Regions from separate parts of the Homo sapiens genome. Here region 2 is linked to region 1. Evidence: promoter capture Hi-C in human tissues and cell types (Jung and others, 2019). All regions are on one chromosome and are shown on one strand. The core of a region is centred on a gene start or on the middle of the fragment in contact, and the rest is flanking DNA. Distances in the headings are between cores, read along the strand shown. Region 1 holds the start of PLVAP (plasmalemma vesicle associated protein). Region 2 holds the start of NR2F6 (nuclear receptor subfamily 2 group F member 6).

The links. Contacts are between HindIII fragments. The study calls those that stand out against the background at their distance.
Region 2: a fragment that was not itself captured here is called in contact with the fragment with the promoter of PLVAP in region 1 in 2 of the 25 tissues and cell types used here (dorsolateral prefrontal cortex and spleen).

What each region holds. Positions count from the first base shown.
Region 1 is chr19:17,372,801-17,380,444 of GRCh38, forward strand. PLVAP (plasmalemma vesicle associated protein) reads right to left here and starts at 4,542. Exons shown (of 6, transcript NM_031310.3): 1 at 4,120-4,542. The coding sequence starts at 4,488. It overlaps LOC105372298 (a long non-coding RNA gene), which reads right to left and starts at 6,972. Exons shown (of 3, transcript XR_936362.3): 1 at 6,880-6,972; 2 at 6,613-6,686; 3 at 5,990-6,030. RefSeq lists an enhancer at 6,360-7,248. The HindIII fragment of the contact is 34,336 bases long and covers 1-7,644 here.
Region 2 is chr19:17,239,123-17,246,766 of GRCh38, forward strand. NR2F6 (nuclear receptor subfamily 2 group F member 6) reads right to left here and starts at 6,797. Exons shown (of 4, transcript NM_005234.4): 1 at 5,821-6,797; 2 at 1,549-1,643. The coding sequence starts at 6,098. RefSeq lists silencers at 133-311, 6,148-6,217, 6,228-6,387, 6,788-7,037, 7,438-7,517 and an enhancer at 6,781-7,644. The HindIII fragment of the contact is 5,712 bases long and covers 951-6,662 here.

The sequences.
Region 1 (7,644 bases), core at 3,292-5,791:
ACACCTGTAATCCCAGCACTGGGAGGCCAAGGCGGGCGGATCACGAGGTCAGGAAATTGAGGCCATCCTGGTTAACATAGTGAAACCCCGTCTCTACTAAAAATACAAAAAAAAAATTAGCAGGGCATGTTGGCGGGCACCTGTAGACCCAGCTACTCGGGAGGCTAAGGCAGGGGAATTGCTTGAACCCAGGAGGCAGAGGTTGCAGTGAGTGGATACCGCGCCATTGCACCCCAGCCTTGGCGACAGAGCTAGACTCTGTCTCAAAAAAAAAAAAAAAAAAAAAAAAAAAAGAAAGAAAAGACACCAGTTAGCCAGGTTCAGGTCTGAGAGGGGAGGCAGGGCTCTAATCTGAGGATCTAAGGGGCAGGCAGGACCCTATTGGGAGGGTCTGAGGGAGGGGCACAGTTATGCCCTGGGGACTGAGGGGTGTTCCACCCCATCTTGGGGGGCTGAGGTGAGACCTACCATACTCTGGGCATCTGGGGAGACGGTGCTTTGCCCCGGGGTTTTGGCGGATAGAGACAGGGCCCTACCCCTGGGGCTCTGGGCGAGGGGTTGAGGTGGAGGTAGGGCCCCGCCATTAGGGGTCTGAGGTGAGGAGACTGAGTTCTGCCTTGAGCAGGACTGAGGGGGCTGAGCTTACCTTCCTGCCCAGTGCGGACGGCTGGGTGGTCTGAGGTCCTATGGGAGGTCTGTCTTTGCCACTGCCTGGGCCCTGGCCAGCCAGGTCACCTCCTTGGAAGACCCTGAAGCTGCCTCTTCAGCCTTCCCTCACCCCACCCTCCCATCTCTCACCCACCTCACCCTTAAGGAGAGAGCCCCACACCTGCTCCCCACAATGTCTCAGGGCAGGCGGGACACCCCCTGGATGAAGTTGTGTCTGAGAACACGGGGATAATTGTCTAGTGAGTTTGACACAAGCCGGGGTGCGAGAGTGGCGCGATGGTCTCCAGGAGACCCCAGATTTGCAGCTGTGACTTTGCCCAGAGAGCCCGCCTGTTTCTGCCACCTCAAGAAAGTCACCTCCCCTCTCATGCCTTCACTTTCCTGCCTGCAAAGGGTTTAAAACTTCTGCTGCCCAGGCGCAATGGCTCACTCCTGTAATCTCAACACTTTGGGAGGCCAAGGCAGGTGGATCACTTGAAGGCAGGAGTTTGAGACCAGCCTGGCCAACATGGTGAAACCCCATCTCTACTAAAAATACAAAACTTAGCCGGGCATGGTGGGGCGCACCTGCAATCCCAGCTACTCGGGAGGCTGAGGCAACAGAATCGCTTGAGCCTGGGAGGCAGTGGTTGCAGTGAGCCGAGACCTTCCACTGCACTCCAGCCTTGGCAACAGAGGGAGACCCTGTCTCAAACAAAACAAAATAAAACAAAACAGCCGGGAACGGTGGCTCACGCCTGTAATCCCAGCACTTTGGGAGGCCGAGGCGGGTGGATCACAGGGTCAGGAGATCCAGACCATCCTGGCTAACACAGTGAAACCCGGTCTCTACTAAAAATAGAAAAATTAGCCAGGCATGACGGCGGGCGCCTGTAGTCCCAGCTACTCAGGAGGTTGAGGCAGGAGAATGGTATGAACGCAGAAGGTGGGGCTTGCAGTGAGCCGAGACTGCGCCACTGCACTCCAGCCTGGGTGAAAGAGTGAGACTCCATCTCAAACAAAACAAAACAACAAAAGCTTCTCCCTACTTCCCGGGATTTGGCAATGAGTTAATATTTCTAAATTCAACACCCAGCATACAGCAAATATGGACTGTTTATACATGCTAGAATTGAACAGGAACAAAACACTGTGAACTTTTATTCAGTCCATCCTTTTTTTGTTTTTTTTTTTCCATTCAGGGTCTCACTCAGTCGCCCAGGCTGGAGTACAGTGGCACTATCTTGGCTCACTGCAGCCTTGACCTCCTGGGCTCAAGTGATCCTCCCACCTCAGCCTCCCAAGTAGCTGGGACTACTGGCATGTGCCACCATGCCTGACTAATTTTTGTATGTATGTATGTATGTATGTATGTATGTATTTATTTTTAGACAGAGTCTCCCTCTGTTGCCCAGGCTGGAGTGCAGTAGTGAGATCTCGGCTCACTGCAATCTCTGCCTCCCAGGTTCAAGTGATTCTCCTGCCTCAGCCTCCCGAGTAGCTGGGACTACAGGCACATACCACCATACCCGGCTAATAATTTTTGTATTTTTAGTACAGACGGGGTTTCACTAGGTTGGCCAGGCTGGTCTCAAATTTCTGACCTCAAGTGATCCACCCACCTTGGCCTCTCACAGTGCTGGGATTACAGGTGTTAGCCAGTATGCCTGGCCTAATTTTTGTACTTTTTGTACAGACAGGGTTTCACCATGTTGCCCAGGTTGGTCTCAAATTCCTGGACTCAGGTGGTCCTCCTGCCTCGGTCTCCCAAAGTGCTGGGATTACAGGTGTGAGCTACTGTAGCCGGTCTTCAGCCACTTATTTGCAGCTTGTGTGTGCTGGACCCCTTTGATTAGTGCTGGCACATTCTGGGAGCTTCATGCATAGTAAGTTATGGGCTCAGGACTGCCAATTAACACACAGGAGGAGAATTAAACTTGGATTCCAAAAAGACAATGAATATTATTTTCAAAATTATATCTCAAATATTGCATGGAATATACTTACAGTTTAAAAAAAATGTTGCTGGCTGGGAATGGTGGCTCATGCCTGTAATCTCAGCACTTTAGGAGGGTGAGCCTAGGAGTTCAAGACCAGCCTCAGCAGCATAGTGAGATTCTGTCTCTAAAAAAAAGTTAGCCAGGGCACCAGGTCAGGGCACGGTGGCTCATGCCTGTAATCCCAGCACTATGGGAGGCCGAGGTGGGTGGCTCACTTGAGGTCAGGAGTTTGAGACCAGCCTGGCAAACATGGTGAAACCCCGTCTCTACTAAAAATACAAAAATTAGCTGGCATGGTTGCACACGCCTGTAATCCCAGCTACTCAGGAGGCTGAGGCAGGAGAATCACTTGAACCTGGGAGGTGGAGGTTGCAGTGAGGCGAGATTGTGCCACTGCACTTCAGCCTGGGTGACAGAGCGAGACTCCGTCTCAAAAAAAAAAAAAAAAATTGCCAGGTGTGGTGGTGCCCACCTGTAATCTCAGCACTTTGGGAGGTCCAGGAGGGAGGATTGTTTGAGCCCAGGAGTTCAAGACCAGCCTGATCAACATAGCGAGACCCCACGTCTACTAAAAATAAAAAATGACCTGGGCATAGTGGCATGTCCATAGTGCCAGCTACTCAAAAGGCTGAGGCAGGAGGATTGCTGGAGCCCAGGATGTCAAGGCTTCAGTGAGCTATGCTCACATCACTGTGCTCCAGCCTGGGTGACAGAGTGAGACCCTGCCTCCAAAAAAAAGAAAAGAAATAAAAAAAATTTAGCTGGACGCAGTGCCCCACACCTGTAATCCCAGCAGTTTGGGAGGCTGGGGTGAGAGGATTGCTTGAGCCCAGGAGTTCGAGACTAGCCTGGGCAACATAGTGAGACCTCATCTCTGCTAAATATAAACATATTAGCTGGGTGTGGTGGTGCACGCCTGTAGTCCCAGCTACTCAGGAGGCTGAGGCAAGAGGATCACTTGAGTCCAGGAGATTGAGGTTGCAGTGAGCTGTGATAGCAATTGCACTCCATCCAGCCCAGGATACACATGGAGACCCTGTCTCTTAAGGAAAAAAAAAAAATCTATCGGCCGGGTGCAGTGGCTCACGCTTGTAATCCCAACAATTTGGGAGGCCAAGGCAGGCGTATCACTTGAGGTCAGGAGTTTGAGACCAGCCTGGCCAACATGGTGAAACCCCATCTCTACTAAAAATACAAAAATGAGCCGGTTATGATGGCACATGCCTGTAATCCCAGCTACTCGGGAGGCTGAGGCAGGAGAATCACTCCAACCCAGGAGGCAGAGGTTGCAGTGAGCCGAGATTGCACCACTGCACTCCAGCCTGGGAGACGGAGCGAGACTCTGTCTCATAAGAAAAGAGAGCATTGGTCCTGTGATCGTCCCCCTCTCTTGGATGAGGAAACTCAGGCTCAGAGAGGTGAGGGGGCTTGCTCAGGGTCCCCAGGGCGAGTGTCCTGCCCACAGCCTTACCCGGTCACCCTGGCACTGGCGGAAGCTGGCATTGATGCGGTCCAGGTCGCGGCGAGCATTCAGCCACATCTGCATGATGGCATCCTTGGCGCGGGTGGTGAAGTTGAGCTCCTTGGTCAAGTTGGACTGGGAGGCCGTGAGCCCTAGGAGCTGACTGTATAGGCCCTCGGCTCGGCGCTCGGTGGCCTGCAGGTTGGACTCTGTGCTCACGTGCACGTTGCCATAGACCATGAAGAGCACGAGCCCCAGGATGATGAGGAATTGGATGAGGGAGACGAAGAGGAAGAAGTAGCGCAGGTAATACCAGCAGCCCCGAGAGCTGCCCCCCGCCCGAGCGTAGGACCCTCCGTGCTCCATGGCCAGACCCATTTGCTCGATCCCGCCGTCCGGTGCACCGTCCCTGCTCACCACCAGGCCTGCTCTGGCCCCCGCCTCGCAGGGGGGAGTGCTTATATTACTCCTCTTAATACTTCCTCTGCCTGGCTCCTTCCTGGCCCGGAGGAAACGGGGGCTGCGGGTTATCACAACACTCCCACTCTGGCTGTGAGAAGGCGGGGGTGGGGCTGGGGGCCCAGAGCCAGGGCACCGGCTGGACCCCTCTGATTAATGCTGGGTGGGGCGCTGGCTGGCTGGTCAGGCATTCCTGGCCTCTTCGAGCCTCGCGTTCGCCTTTACTTGCTGGCGGGTGCTGTTCTCAGTACCTGCTGTGATTAGGTCGCTGAATCATGCCAGGTCTGTTGCTGTCTCCCTTGTGTGGCGGAGGAAACTGAGGCACAGGGAGGAGAAGGGGTTGCCTCGGGGTCTCACGCTGTTAGTTCAGCGAACTTGACTTACCTCAAGACAGGCTGGCTACAGACGTGCACCCACTTCACCAGGGCGGTGCTGATTAAGTGCCACAAAACGTGGGAAATGTGCCAGGCACGGTGGCTCACGCCTATAATCCCAGCACTTTGGGAGGCTGAGGCGGACGGATCACCTGAGGTCAGAAGTTTGAGACCAACCCGGTCACCGTGGTGAAACCCCCCGTCTCTACTAAAAATACAAAACTTAGCCAGGTGTGGTGGTGCTCGCCTGTAATTCCAGCTACCCAGGAGGCTGAGGCAGGAGAATCGCTTGAACCCAGGAGTCGGAGGTTGCGGTGAGCAGAGATCGTGCCATTGCACTCCAGCCTGGGGTATAGAGCAAGACTCTGTTTCAAAAAAAAAAAAAAACAGAAAAAGTGTGAAACTCTTAGCTAGCCTAGGGATGGAGAAGCAGTAGGTGATTAGTAATTGCATAGGAGGGCGTCACGGAGGGCTGAGCCATGGATGGCGGTGGCGCTGGCTCCCCAAGCTCTGTCATTGCCCCCAGTGCCCTGTTCACTTAGATGCTCAGTAAATGCTCCAGGAAACTGCAGCACAAGGAATAATGAACTTGGAGCGGGGAAGAGCTGGCTTTGTCCCGGGAGAGCTCGGGCAAGAGGCCTCGCATGTCTGTGCCTCCCTTTTCCCCTTTGTGAGACGGGGTATACCCAGTGCCTCGTCACTCTGTGGCTGTTGTTATGATTAGGATCATTTCCTGCTGGAGGCACTGCTGGGGGCTCCGTGAGATGGTGAATGACAAGTGGTGGATACGTGGGACTGAGATTCCTCCCCCGACACTCAAAACCCCATGGGCGGCCGGGCATAGTGGCTCACACCTGTAATCTCAGCACTTTGTGAGGCTGAGGCAGGCGGATCACCTGAGGTCAGGAGTGCGAGACCAGCCTGGCCAATATGGTGAAACCCCATCTCCACTAAAAATACAAAAATTAGCCGTGTGTGGTGGCGAGCACCTGTAATCCCAGCTGCTTGGGAAGCTGAGGCAGGAGAACCACTTGAACCCGGGAGGCGGAGGTTGCAGTGAAGCGAGATCGGGCCACTGCACTCCATCCTGGGAGATAAGAGAGAAACTCTGTCTCAAAAACAAAAACAAACAAACCAAAAAAACCACGGGAGTTTTCTGGGGTCGCTGTGGGTCACCCCCCAGTTGGGCCTGGAGGGGATTTGGGGACCCGGAAGCAAAGGATTCTGTGTGTCCTGCCTATCTCCCAGGATCAGGAGCTCCAGGGAAACCCTCCCTGGAGTCCCTTCTTTGTTTGCTCCATGCTGGGTGATGCCAGGGCCCCCCAAGAGGTGTCAGTCCCAACCTCAGCCACAAGCAACTCCCAGTCTTGGGAGACAGACTGGGACAGGTACCCCCCACCCTGTGGAGTCAGGGTGGGCTGGAGGAACAGGAGCAGGGAGCCGGAAAGGAGGCTGGACTCCGGACAGGTGACAATCATGCAATTGCTGTCCTCTGTAGGGCAATGTGAAGGCTGGGGCGTGGGGACCCGTCCCCCCATTAGCCAGGGTAACAGAGTGGGGAGGGGTCGTTGACAGAGCGGAGGGGTACTCCAGGGTGGTGCTCAGTGAGGCGAGTGTAGAGTTGAGAAGAAGGAAGTTCCCAGGGGTGGGCAGGAAACCCATGTCTGACCTTTGACCTTTGCAGCTACCCGGTGGTTCCTGATCCTGATTCCGGACCCTTCCCAGCGGCGTCGTCGGCGGCTGCTAGTGGGGGAAGGAGGGCTGGGGGCTGCCACGGGTGCCCAACCAGCCATTTCTCTGGGTTGGCCAGACCCACCCAGAGCCCCCCAGAGCTGGGCAGGAGGAGAACATCCTCCGTAATGGGGGCAATGTAGTCTGAGTGAACCCAGCATTACAGTTTAGAGTTCTGGAGTTGAGTTCTGACTGTGCCACCTACCAGCTTTGTGGCCTTGGAGAAGTGACTTTCCCTCCCTGGGCCTCAGTTTTCTCCTGTCCGAAGTGGAGATAGCCAGGTGCAGTGGCTCACACCTGTAATCCCAGCAGTTAGGGAGGCAGAGGTGGGAGAATCGTTGGAGCCCACAAGTTCAAGACCCTGTTCTAAAAAAAAAAAAACCCAAAAAACAAAAACAAAACAAAAATCAAGTGAAGACAACATAGCCAGTTTTTTTTGTTTTTTTTTTTTGTTTTTTTTTTTTTTTTTTGAGATGGAGTCTGGCACTGTTCCCCAGGCTGGAGTGCAGTGGCACTATCTTGGCTCACCACAGCCTCTGCCTCCTGGGTTCAAGGGATTCTCCTGCCTCAGCCTCCTGAGTAGCTGGGACTACAGGCACGCGCCAGCATGCCTGGCTAATTTTTTGTATTTTTAGTAGAGACAGGGTTTCACCAGGCTGGTCTCAAACTCCTGACCTCGTGATCCGCCTGCGTCGGCCTCCCAAAGTGCTCGGATTACAGGCGTGAGCTACCTCACCTGGCCAACAACATAGCCAGTTTTGAAGTACTTGACGTCATGCCTGGAACATACTCAGTCTTAATAAATGATGGCCTTTTTTTTTTGAGACAGAGTCTTGCTCTATTGCTCAGGATGGAGTGCAGTGGTGCGATCTCGGCTCACTGCAACCTCTGCCTCCAGAGTTCAAGCAATTCTCCTGCCTCAGCCTCCCAAGTAGCTGGGATTACAGATGTGCAGCACTACTGCTCAGCT
Region 2 (7,644 bases), core at 2,557-5,056, 130 kb before region 1:
GATCAGGAGATCGAGACCATCCTGGCCAACATAGTGAAACTCCATCTCTATTAAAAATACAAAAATTAGCTGGGCGTGGTGGCATGTGCCTGTAATCCCAGCTACTCAGGAGGCTGAGGCAGGAGAATCGCTTGAACCAGGGAGTCAGAGGTTGCAGTGAGCCGAGATGGCACCACAGCACTCCAGCCTGGCAACAGAGCGAGACTCTGTCTCAAAAACAAAACAAAACAAAATACAAAAATTAGGTGGGCGTGCCGGGCGCGGTGGCTTACGCCTGTAATCCCAGCACTTTGGGAGGCTGAGGCAGGCAGATCACGAGGTCAGGAGATCGAGACCATCCTGGCTAACATGGTGAAACCCCGTCTCTACTAAAAATACAAAAATATCCGGGCGAGATGGCAGGCGCCTGTAGTCCCAGCTACTCCGGAGGCTGAGGCAGGAGAATGGCGTGAACCCAGGGGGCGGAGCCTGCAGTGAGCCGAGATCATGCCACTGCACTCCAGCCTGGGCGACAGAGCAAGACTCAGTCTCAGAAAAAAAAAAAAAATTAGCTGGGCGTGTTGGCCCGTATCTGTAGTCCCAGCTACTCGGGAGGCTGAGGCAGGACAATCACTTGAACCCGGGAGGCGGAGGCTGCAGTGAGCTGAGATCACACCACTGCACTCCAGCCTGGAAGATGGAGCGAGACTCCATCTCAAATAAAAATAAAAATAAATAAAGAAAATAAGGAAAAAAAAACTTCAAAGCAGGGGAGGCTCAGGTTAGACATTAGAAAGAACTGCCAGCCTGGCCCACGACACAGTCCCCAGAGGAACCTGAAACCCAGCACAGGAGATCTCGTCCAATAGGCTAGATTCTATTCCTGAACCCCAGAAATCCATGCAGAAATCTCTGGGTTCTACTTGAATTCTAAGGGGGTTTGGCAGAGTTCTAGGCCCAGCAGCCCAGAATACGCCCGTCCACCTGGGTCCCCTGAGCAGAGACAGCTGGGCCTCACTCTTGCTCCCAGCGCCCGGGGTCAGAAGAAAGGGTAAGCTGCCCTTTGCCTTAATCGGGCAGAGTTCCTGCCTTGGGCAAACAAAAAGCATGGGTGAAGGGTGGAGGAGAAACAAATCAAATAAAAAAAAAAATCCTTGTTCAGAACGCGGTGGCCGCGCTAGCAGACAAGAGGTCACCAAGGTGTCAGGGCCAGGGAACTGGCCTCTGAGGCTGGAGTCGGGGGTAATTGGGGAAGGCAGCTCCTGCAAGAGAATGGGGCTGGGGAAAGTCCCTTGTGGGGCGTCCCTGGCCTCTTCAGCTCCACGGCAGCAACCAGGGGGCCACGGATCCTAATTGGATTCCTCCAGCCTAGGGCCAGACTGCAGCCCACGGGATCAAGGGATCAGTGGTAATGAGGTTAGCAGGCGCCGGCCCCCACCCTGTGAGGCACCCAGACCCCTGTGAAAGGGAGGGGTGAAAGGGAGGGGAAAAAGGGGAGGAAGAAGCTGTTTGTTCACCCCGGCTCCAGCGGCTGTGATCGTCCCCAGTGTGTCCCCAGCACGTACTCACCCTCCTTCCTCATGCCCACCCGGAAGCACTTCTTGAGACGGCAGTACTGGCACTGGTTCCGGTGGTGCTGGTCGATCTGGCAGTCACGGTTGGACCTGGGGGCACACAGAAGCCAGGGCTCCCTGAGACCCCCATATCCTCCTCCCCGAACCAGCCTATGAGCCGCCTTTGGAGGCTGCCCCTCAGAAATACTAGTAGGGGCCCTCTAGACTGGAGAGGTAGCCCCAAAGGGGTACAGGAGCTCAGCTTGCAGGTCTGCAAACCAGACAGGATAACCCGGATGAGTGGTGATGGATGAAGAGGAATCTGTGGAAAAGCAGATGAACACCCCAGGGAGGGCACATTGGCATGGGTTTTGAAGGATGAATAGGAGTTCTCCAGGTGAATGGCGGGGTGATCCCAGAGAGAGGGTACAGCCAGAGCAAAAGGGTTGAAATACACAAATATGGAGGCCTAAAGAGTTTCATTTTATTTGGTCACTGTCAGGCTGAGCAGGGTCATTGTCCCCAAAAAGATGTGAAGGCAAAGAGGACATGGTCAGAGAGCTGGACTTTGTGAATTAACTAGGGGTCAGGCCAGGGGCTAGTGGTCTGTGGGGTCATAGCATTGTGGGGCCCCAGCATTATCACCCGCACAATGCCCACCCCAAGGAATGAGGAAGTAAACAAAGTCACTCTGGTCCTCAGCCCTGAAGGCCCCACACCTACGCTCTTCCGAGAGGACCACCCAACCCCTATGCAAGCTGGAGATTTTCCTGGTCAGCCCTCAGTGAATGCCGTTGCCTCTTGCAGGGATGAGACAGGTGGCCCCACCCTGAGAGGTGGTGAGCTCCCCATCCTGGGTCAGCCCCCAAGCAGGAAGGTCCAGGCCTTATTCTTCAAATGTCCCCAGAACCTTCTCCCCTTGGCCCCTGCCCTTGGACTCCCCTGGTCTCTTGCCACCAGGAGCTGGGGGCTCTCCAAGGCCTGGGCCTGGAGCAACTACCCCTGGGGTTCCAGCTGGACACCCAGGGGACACACAGAGACAGTCACAGAGTAGAACCACCACTTAAGGGAATTAAACAGATGCATCTCTGCAGTGGCTCACGCCTGTAATCCCAGCACTTTGGGAGGCGGGGGAGGGTGGATCACCTGAGGTCAGTTCAAGACCAGCCTGGCCAACATGGTGAAACCCCGTCTCTACTAAAAATACAAAAATGAGCTGGGCGTGGTGGCGCATGCCTGTAATCCCAGCTACTTGGCAGGCTGAGGAAGGAGAATCGCTTGAACTGGGGAGGTGGAGGTTGCAGTGAGCCAAGATTGACCCACTGCATTCCAGCCAGGGTGACAGAGTGAGACTCTGTCTCAAAAAAAAAGAAAAAAAAAAAGGCTGGGTGCAGTGGCTCATGCCTGTAATCCCAGCACTTTGGGAGGCCGAGGCGGGCGGATCACCTGAGGTTGGGAGTTTGAGACCAGCCTGAACAACATAGAGAAAACCTGTCTCTACTAAAAATACAAAATTAGCCGGGCATGGTGGCGCATGCCTGTAATCCCAGCTATTTGGGAGGCTGAGGCAGGAGAACCGCTTGAACCCGGGAGGCAGAGGTTGCAGTGAGTTGAGATCACGCCATCGCACTCCAGCCTGGGCAACAAGAGTGAAACTCCGTCTCAAAAACAAAACAAAACAAAACAAAACAGATGAATCTCAGCTGCAGATACCCAGCCCTGCCCCTCAGGTGGCGACTGCCCCACTGAGCCTCGGTTTCCTCATCTGAAAATGGGAGGTCAGATATTGCCCTATCATATGGGATGGACTGGGTCAGAGGGGTTCACGGGGGACAGTGCCAAGACCCAGAGCCCAGCCGGAGAACCCAACTTAGGAAAGCTGAGGATCTGCGCCCACTCCCCCGTACCCCCCCTCCACCACTGCCTGGGTCCTGCAGCACCAGCCACTGAGCCCCTGGGAAGAGGCCCCACTAGGGCAGAGGGAGCTCAGGCAGAACCAGAACAAAGCCCAGCGGCTGGGTGGTGGGAGGGTCCAGGGCAGCCGGGTGGAAACGGCCTGGCCTGGGGCGGCCCTGCAGGCAGGCAGAGGCCCAGCTCAGGGGCCCCTGACCTCAGGGGAGGCCCTGAACCTTCAGTCTCAACTTCCCCAGCTGTGGAATTGGGACAGATCCATCCCTCCAAGGAGGGAAACAGTTAAGTTCTTCCTGTTATCCCACCTAAAGAGTGCAAGCTTTTTTGCCCAACCCCATGGCCCAACTCAGCTTCCTCCCTGGGCTTCTGGCCTCCAGTCCAATTTGATCAGAGCCCTCTCCTGCTCACACACCCTCTATGGCTCCCCATTACCCTCAGCCAGCATTTCAGGCCCACCTAGCTCTGACTTCTCCCATGGCTGCACAGTCCCCCTCTTACAGCACAGCTCCCCCAGTCTGCCACTAAGTGTTTTGTCTGGACCACATTCTGGCATGTCCCTGTGGCCTTTCTTCCACCTGCCAACTCCATGCTTCAAGGCTCATGTCCCCTAGCCTCCTCCAGGCAGCCCTCTCTGACCTCCAGGCAGAGCCTCTGCTCTCTCCCTGGGACCCCAGATCCCACAGACTTGGGGCATCTGTCTCACTGTGTCTCCTCCAGACTGGGGGCTTCTCAGGAGCTAGACTTGGAGCTGGGGTCTCTCTGGAGGGGCTGGCATCAAACTACCCAGGCTGGGCCCCAGCGAGACCCTGCTCAATCCATTTGAAGCTCAGAATGGAATGGTGATTTCACCAGGTCACACAACTGACACAGCACAAACCTGTCAGCTCCAAGCAAGGCCCCCCCCACCCAAAATTGCTGCTCCCTGACACCACCCTCAGGAAGCTCCTGGGACCCCAAAACTGCCTGAGCCCCCCTCCCTTACCCTCCCTAAAGATATGACCAGAGAGCAGGCGGTTTTCCAGCAGCAAGAATGAGGCCAAAGTCTAGTGGCCCACTTTGTGCTGGAGGAGGGAGCAAGGCAGCTCTGCCACACATGGCCACACCAGGCCAGCCCTGACCCGGGACCTGGGGCCAAACTCCACCCTCGGGTACCTGGGGCCCTATTTGGTGGCCTCAGCCAACAAGCCTTCCATCAGCCGTTCTCCCTGGGGCCACTCCGATCCGAACTCAGCGGTCCCCACCCTAGCCCCACAGTTCCCCCACAGTGCCCCCAACTCGGGCAGCGTCCCTCCATGTCCAACGCAAAGCAGGCACCAGGACCTCTCTCTGGGCCTTTGGGCCTCTGTTTTGGGCAGCTGGGAACTGAGACCGTCTAGACGGGCTCCACAGAGACCCTGCATGTTCCTGGGGTGCAGAGTAGGGGCTTATAAACGGACAGATCGGATGCTCGCCCGGGAACGGTGAGAAAAGAACTCCCGGGCTGGACAACCCCGATCGCTTTCCCTGGGGACCTTCCGCCAGAACAGCTAGCAAGGCCACGCCCTGCCAGAGAGGTCTCCGACCTGGGACAGCCCAAGGCTCCTGCTCGGAAACGTTTCACTCCCTGCCCGTCTCAGAGACACCCAAAGTTTGAGGGATTTTTCCAGGAGCCCCAGGTCTGCACCCACCCCTGGGGGAGAGGGACGTTTCAGTCAATTCCGGTGGCCCTGCCGGCCTTCCAGTGGCGATTTCCGGTGACCCAAGGCCCAGAGTGAGCCCAGAGGGGTTCCCTGAGATGGGCAAGCCCAGCTCCCACCCCCACCCCCACCGCTGGGCCCCTCATGCGAAGAAGGCCGCCCCGTGCCACCCCAGCCTCCCTCCGTCTGCCGCCTCCGTAGCCACAGCGACTTTGGAAGTGATATTTGACCCCAAGGGCGCGCCGTATCGATCCGCGCGGCCGCAGACAATGGCCCCTGGACGCTGCGAGCTCCACGGTCCAAGTTCCACGTTCGATTCCCTCGAGGGCATCCCGCGCGCCGGGATCCCCGAGAACGGGTGCCCTGGGGTTGGGTTACCACCCCTGACAGCACCCCTACCCCCACCCCAGCGCGGAGATGACCCCTCCCCAGAGAAAAAGCGGAGGGAAGGAGAAGCAAGTAACTGGGGCAAAAGCCTCCAGGGACCACCTGATGGGGGGGGAACCTGCAACGATGTAGCGCCGACTGTATACACAATCCCAGCCATGGAATGCGGGAGGAGGGTGCTGTGCCCCTATCTCAGAGGGGGCAGTGGAGGCCCAGGGAAGGTCAGCGCCAGGCCCAAGGTGACCGAGCAGGTCAGAGGCCTGCCCCAGGTCGGGGCGGGGTGCACGGCGGCGGCGCGCGGATGGGGGGCTCACCGGCAGGTGTAGCTGAGGTTGCGGCGGATGCTTCGCTTGAAAAAGCTCTTGCAGCCCTCGCAGGTGAAGACACCGTAATGCTTGCCGCTCGACTTGTCCCCGCACACCACGCAGTCCACCTGCAGCCCCGGCCGCTCCTCGTCGCCCGGCTCGGCGTCGCTGGCGGCACCGGGGGGCGAGGCCGAGTCGTCCTCGGCCGCGCGCGGGTAGCCGCCCGCCTTGTCCACGCCGTTCGTGTCGCCGCCGGGGCCGCCCCAGCCGCCGGTCACCATGGCCATAGCCCCAGGGCAGCGGGGCCGGGGCGCCCCCACCGCGCTCTTCCCTCCGGGCACCCCTCTCGGCCCGGGGGACCCTACGCGGCGCGCATTCGGCCCCGGCGCGCGGGGGGCACGGGCTGCACCCCCCAAAAAAGTTTTGCAGCAACTTCCTGCGGCCGGTCCTCGCGCCCGGGCGGAACTGGTCGGGCCGGTTCCAGGCCAACTTTCCCACGCGTGCGCGGGGCCGGGCCCGGGGCCGGGAGGGGCACGCTAGAGGCGCGGGCCGGGGGCCCAGAGGACTCGCGTCCCGCCGCCCTGGGGCCCCGGCGGGGGCGCGCGGGCCATGGCCCGGCCCGAGCCGCGCAGGGGGCGTCCTCTGGCCTGGCCGCCGCTCGCCCGGGGGCTGCGGCCAACTCAGCGGGCCGCCATCCGAGCGCGGGAGGCCGGGGGGAAAGTTTGGCCGCAAGTTGCGCGGCCGCCCGTGGCGGGGGGGGAGGGGCGGCGGGTGCGCGCCGGGGCTGATCGCCGCGCCCCCTGGGTCCCCCGGCGCCCGCGGCTGCCGCTCCGGGCCTGCAGGGCCGCTGGGCCGGCGCCTCTGGAGCTGCCGCCCCCGCTGCGGCCGCTCCTGCCTGGCCTGGGCCTGCGCCTGGGCCCAAGCCTCGCTCTCGCCGCCGCCACCGCCACCGACCCCGCGCGCCGGCCTCGCGCTGCGGCCGGTTTGACACACAGCGTTCCATTCGCGGGGCGGGCGGGGGGCGGGGGCGGGGGCAGGGGCGCGCGCCGCGGGCTGGGGGCGGGCGCTCGTTGCCCCGGCGACGGCCGCCCTTATAAGGGCATGGGTGGCCGCGCGCGGCGCCGGGCGAACGGGCCGGCGGGAGGGACGGGGGCCGAGCGCTGGGCCGCGGGGCCTGACCCTCCCCCGCCTCCCTCTGCCCCTCCCCCCGCACCCCCGCCCTCGCCCTCGCCCAGCTCGGGCCTTAACCCCTGCCGGGCCGCGGCGGGAGCCTCAGCCGCGCCTGCCCTCTGCCCTTCCTTGAGCCTCGCCAAGATGTCTCTCCAAGGCCCTCCCCTCCACCTCTGGCCTTGGACGTTGGGTCGCTCGATCACCCTCGAGGCGCCCCTCGGAACCTCTCCCCACCCCACAGTTCCTGGCAAAGCAATGATGGGGGGCCAGTGGCACCCGGGGGGGGGGTACGCCCCTGCGCAAGACACACGCGCGCGCGAGACAGACAGACACACACACACACACACACACACACACACACACACACACCCTAGATTGTGTTTGCTTCCTCTTCCAGAAAGTCGCCGCGTCTGACCCCCACCCCACCCTTTCTCTGCTCGGGTTAACACCTGGTGCCCGGAATCTCCAGGGGGAAGGGATGTTGTGGTCTGAGACCGGCTGGCCGGGGCCGCGAGGTCAGGGGGCCCCTCTGCAGAATTTCTGGCCTCCGGGGGCAGGGCGCCCACCCGCCCCGCGCGGCTGGAGGCGACAGGCATGCCCTGTCTGGGGGCCTGCCCCTTTTTCCCTTTTAATTTCCTTTTCTTTCTGTGCTTTGCAGAAAGG